Regions from separate parts of the Homo sapiens genome. Here region 1 is linked to region 2. The links are contacts of gene promoters, found by promoter capture Hi-C in human tissues and cell types (Jung and others, 2019). All regions are on one chromosome and are shown on one strand. Each heading gives the region's core, a stretch centred on a gene start or on the middle of the fragment in contact. The rest is flanking DNA. Distances are from core to core; before and after follow the strand shown. Region 1 overlaps CLNK (cytokine dependent hematopoietic cell linker). Region 2 holds the start of CLNK (cytokine dependent hematopoietic cell linker).

Region 1 (3,051 bases), core at 240-2,739, 50 kb after region 2:
TGCCTGATGCTGTGCAGAAGAGCGTAGTCTAGAAGAAAGAACACGGATTTTGGAGACAGGCATTCCTCTCAACCCCAAACCTGCCATCTCCTAGCCATGTAACTTTGGACAAGGTATCTAACCTATAAGCTCTTTCATGTCTTCATCTTTGAGATGGAATAATAACCCAATCCAACCCATTTAATTCATGAGAGGAATTTATTGGCTTAGAAAACTGAGATAGTCTAGAATGTATCTAGATTCATACAGAGCAATATGCAAAGATTTAAAGGACATCAGCAGGTCCCTCTGTCGCTCTCTTCCATTTTTTTGCTGATACTCTGCAGTATCAGCTTTATTTTCAGACAGTCGCTTTCCACATCCAGCACAGATGGTGGAGAGTATCTAAGTATATATCACTGGGAGAATATACTATCCCAAGGAGAGAAAAGGCCTCCTCTCTCTTGGCCAGAGCACGTACTGTACAGCTAAATTCTGGCCAAGAGATTAGTGTCAGAGGTGGACAGGGTCGATCAGTCTCTGCCGTAGGAAACGGGGCAATCTGATTACCCAGGCAGGATCTCCTGACACTTCACTGTCAGGAGAGGCAGAACATGTGACTGAGAGCCCTACCAGTTGAGGAAGTTGCCAGTCACAATGGGGCAGTCAAAATGAGCAACATATGTCTAATACGGAATGTCGGAAACTCAGGAAAAGCAGAAAGCTTCATAAACCTGTTGTAGTATCCAAATTCTCTCACTAAATTCTTGTCAAAATACTGAATGCTTAAATAAGTAAATTAATATAGCACTTGACCAGTTAGTAAAAATGTCATCAATCTAGAAACCAGGTTAGAAGATGCTTCATAAGATTGTTATCTCTTTTGAAAGGGGAAATAGCCAAAGGGCTGTTATAATGGGAAAAGCCCTACACCTGGAATCAGGAGGGCCAGGATGCCCACCTGCTCTTCAACTAAGGAGCCATGCAAGGGGGAGAGGCCTTTTCTCTCTCTGGTCCTCAGTTTCTGCCCAGAAGTCCCAGTCCCAGTCCAACTGCTCATTTTACCAAAGATTTTTTTTCCAGCAATGATATTCTCAGATCCTTCCTCACCTCTAATGACTTTCACTAATCTGAATGAACCTGAAGGGAAAAGCCAAATTGTTCTCCAGGAGGTTTCCATAGGAGGGAAGCAAAAAAGCTTCAGAAGCCTGAGCAGTGACAGGTATTTCAAAACACCGAAGTTAGACTGGGAAAGCTGGAAATGCAGAGGTGCCTCTGAGAAGCAATAGGGCAACTGAAAGTACTTAGAGTAATTAGCGCTAAAAATTCAGTCTTTCGGTGCACAGTGTAAGCCCAGTAGGCAGAATCCAGGCTGCTGGGTTCTTTGCTCTTCCTTAGATCAAATGTGGAGAGGTAGAAAGCATGAAGCTTGAGTTGCAAGGGAAATGACAGGCAAATGAAATAAAGAGAACTAATTAACTTCAGCCTCATTCCCCAGATTATGAAGAGCCGAGCGCACACAGCAAGCTGGCTGGGAAGCTGGGAAACAGTGGGGTCTCCAGCCTTGCCCACTGACTCGGTGCTAACGTGGGGGACACCTCCCAAAATGACCACCCAGGTGTCTCCTTTTATATCCAAAACTTCCTTTGGAAAAAGGCCACTTTTTCAGGGCAAATATTTAACCTTCCTCCCCTAGGCTCTACTCTGTGCCCCTTCTCTTCTTATGGGCCTTACTAATGACCCTGATGGACTCTGTTTCTCTTCTCTGAGCTCTGGCACCTTAAAAATGCAAGTATTATCCAAGGGGAGTGACTTCAACATGATGACAAAGGGAATGGCTCAGGGTGAGCCCATCAGTCTGCACCCAGCTCTACCTGTGTGATCTTATACAGGGGGCTTAACTATGCTGAATCTCATTTTCCTTGTCTGTAAAATGGGAGTTCTCATTCTGACCTCACTAGTTGGCCTAAGTATTAATGGGAACTCAGTGCATAGCTATTACCATTATGCAACTGAGCACCCAACATTGTTTAGCCTTTTCCAGTACAACCAACCACAAAGGGCTGATATAGGGAACAAATGAAATATTGTATGTGAAAGTGCATAACAATATCTAGCACTGATTATGGCAATAGTATGATTGCCAATTCTATTACCATTATGAGTGACAGATTCTGTCTGCTTCTGTATATACAGCCAAATTACATTTGTACTGTTTGGAATGGTATGGAGCAGTTATAAATGAGTGAAGTACAAGGATGACAGAATTCTTGCTCTTTGGAGACCTTGCAGATAGACACCTACGAGCATTGGTTCTAGGCTCAGATGTTCCTGGATTAGGCATGGGTCTCTGTCAAATTGCGTCTCTCGTTTTCTTCACCTGCAAACCATGATCACAATTAAATTCACCATATAGGGAATGGGAATTAAATGGGAGAATGTAGATGAAGCGTTAACCTATCATCTGGCACAGAGTAAGCGTTCAATAAATCTGTGCTTGCATCAGATGCTCTGGGAAAGCTGCAGCCCATCAGTCGCAACAAAGCTGATGAAGATGGTAACACATGCACAAAGAATAACGCTGTCGACTTGAGAGAATGCACATTCTCTAAACTTAAAAACTTTTAGCTTTGATTCTAGCAGGGAAAGGAATTTCCAAATTTAAAATTTTCCAGGCCAGGTGTGGTGGCTGATGCCGTAATCCCAGCACTTTGGGAGGCCGAGGCAGGCAGATCACCTAAGGTCAGGAGTTCGAGACCAGCCTGACCAAACTGGCCAAACCCCATCTCTACTAAAAATACAAAAATTAGCCTAGTGTGGTAGCACATGCCTGTAATCCCAGATACTCAGGAGGCTGAGACAGGAGAATTGCTTGAACCCAGGAGGCAGAAGTTGTAGTGAGCTGAGATCACGCCCCTGCACTCTGGCCTGGTTGACAGGCCTCAGTCAAAATAAGATAAAATGCTTATCTTTTCTCTGTCTCAAAATAAGATAAAATGCTTCTGTTATGAGTTAGCTAGCAGCCTCATCTGCTTATTTGGGCCAATTTTGAGGTATTTTTAAATAGTATTT
Region 2 (2,717 bases), core at 171-2,670:
CATGTAAACACAAAAACAAGGATACAAAGACACCCACAAGCCGGGGATAAAGGCCTGGAACAGATCTTCTCCTCATGGCTCTCAGGAGGATCCAACCTTGCCGACTCCTTGATCTCAGACTTCCAGAGGCCAGACTGTGAGACAATACAATTTGACCTTCTGTTTTGTTAGCCACTCAGGGCTCAGTCCTTTGTTATGAAAACCCCAGAAAATTAATATGGGTCCAGACCAAAAGAAGTGAGCAAGTGACACACACAATTATGAACTAAATAAAGTGGTTACTGCTTTAAGCCCCTAATGCAGCAAAAGCTAATTAATAAAGTGGTTAAACTACTCGAGTCTCCCTAGTCTTCAGTTTTCACAATTACAAAATGGGATTTTACATATGTTCCTTACATGGTTATTAGTAAGATTAAGGAGGATAATGCTTGCAAGTTGCTTAGCAATGTAACTGACTCACAATTAGCATTCAAAGAGTGCTTATTTTCATGTTTTCCTTGGGGTGTCTGTTAAGTCAAAACCAGAGTTATTTACCCAAGAAAATATAAACTTCTACCTTTGAATTTATTGTAAATAATGTTGGAGTTTGTTATGGAATTCAACATCAATTTATATAAAACTAGAATGTCAAGTCTCCAGAAGAGGAAACAGGCACTCGGCAAGATCAGCTTAAATGGACCAAGATTAAGGCCGAAAGAAAATGTATTAAGCAACTGATATGTGCCCAAACATTACTGCATGCCTTTATTTACAATATTTTGTTTATTTATTGAAATACTTCTAAAATATAAATATTATCCTTCCATCACAATTGAGGAAATATCATTTCCTCAATGAAGGAAATATAATCCTCAATTATCCCTCATTTTTTAAAAAAGTTTCTAAAATACAAATATTATTATCACTCAAACTACTTGAGAAATAAACTTCAAAGTGCCCAAGATCCTATAGCTAATAATTAATACAGCAAGAATAAGAGGCAGGCATTTCTCCTTTAGTTCCCAGGTTCTTTCCTTAACACCTGGTCCATGTGTCTGGGATGGTCTCAGGAAGCCATTGCAAAATTAAGCCAAAAGATGATAGTTAATGTCCACTATTCATATAAAGTGAGACTCGCAAAACCCACCTTCCATGCTTGAGTGTTGCCCAGCAGTTCCTTTTATTGTGTTCTGGTAACTATGAAGTGCCACATAAGGACACCGTGTGTCTTTAAAAACACCCTTTGCATTGGAAGATTTCAGCCTCTGAAAGCTTCACGTATTGCACTCCAGCCTAAGAAGAGGAAGTCCTGCCAGCCCTCAGGTCAGACCTCTCAGGTCTGTGGCTGCATTTCACAGGAAACCAAGTCTAAAACGGACCTATCAGGAGGTTTTCTGCTGAAGGGCACTGCTTAGCATCGAGAAGAATTCAACCCACCGCCTTACTAATTTCCAGTGCCCCAAGGTCTCTGCACTGCCGCCCCTCCTCACAGGAGACGGACACCTCAGCCTAGATCCCTTGGTGCTCTCCACGCTGTTCAGGTAAACTCATTAGGCCAGTTCTTCTGAGTGAGGATCTCATGGTCATCTCCTTGTCATAAATGATCATCAGGAAAGACCTGAGCAGCAAGTAAAAATGTGTTTCTAAAGTGGAAGTCTGGGCCTTATATATAGCATCAAAGGAGCAAGAAGAAAGCCCTTAACTCAATTGTTAAAGATCCTTTCATTCTTTTGGGAGAAAGAATCAGGATACCTACCCACAGAAAATTAAAAGACTAAATGTTTTCAATCTTCTTTTCCTGGAGCTTGGACTCCCCGACTGTTTGCAACTGAAATCTAAAGACCAGGCCCCATGGCTGGCTTTCCTGGCTGACCTTCATTAAGTAAGCCCTCTAGAAAGAAAGCCTCCATTCAAAGTAGGTCATTCAAAGTATAAGTTAACTCCTGGAGCCCTGTGGAAATATATTTTTAACATTTTCTAAAGTAATACGATTTTCTTTCTGCTTTGGTGTAGAGGAGACTTAGACTTTGGAATCACGCAGACATCCTTCCACTCACAAGAGTAAGGAGCTCAAAAGTGAGGTTAAAGTTGGGGTTAAATTCTTACTCTTGAAAAGTGCCGGGAGTCATCTCTACCAGGCTTTTATTGGATAAAGCAAACAAACTGGAATGAGACAGAAAAGAAAATAACTATCATCAAAATATGGATACTTTGATTTTAAAAGGTGTCGATATGCCTGAACTTTTTATCAATACTGTTTTTATTACTTTACACCAGTGTTACTCATTTGGCTTCTCTGTTATGAGTATTACTTGTCTATTACCTACATGGCTATTTCTCTGGCTGTCTCTGTCTATACTGTGGCGCAGCTCCTCAATAGTGTTGTTCTTTGGATTTCCAGGGGCCTCCCAAACCACCAGGAATAATCATTTCAAATATCAAGAAGACGATGGTAGAGCTGGTTAATTGAAGGCCTACCAGAGAAATGACAGCGCTTCAGAAATCCTCTAAGAAGCTTAAGATACAGTATGCCCTAGAGAAGTAGGAATGGCAACTGGCATTTACTTACCTTCAGCTCCTGCTGACCTAGAGAGCTGGCTATTACTTTCCCTGGTTTACAGGTGAAGAACTTGAGTTCTCTAAGTAATATGTGCAAGGTTGTTCAGTCACTAATGTCAGTAACAGAATTCAGAAGGAAACTGATTTTCCTGGCTGACTGATTGGAATGGTGAACAGTG

The links. The method cuts DNA at HindIII sites, captures the fragments that hold promoters and counts their contacts. A contact is called where the count stands out against the background at its distance.
Region 1: a fragment that was not itself captured here is called in contact with the fragment with the promoter of CLNK in region 2 in 1 of the 25 tissues and cell types used here (pancreas).

What each region holds. Positions count from the first base shown.
Region 1 is chr4:10,632,839-10,635,889 of GRCh38, reverse strand. All of the region lies in intron 2 of CLNK (cytokine dependent hematopoietic cell linker), which reads left to right. Among named protein-coding and RNA genes, the nearest start is that of CLNK, 50 kb to the left of the region's middle. The HindIII fragment of the contact is 3,222 bases long and covers 1-3,051 here.
Region 2 is chr4:10,683,471-10,686,187 of GRCh38, reverse strand. CLNK (cytokine dependent hematopoietic cell linker) reads left to right here and starts at 1,420. Exons shown (of 19, transcript NM_052964.4): 1 at 1,420-1,520. The HindIII fragment of the contact is 5,072 bases long and covers 269-2,717 here.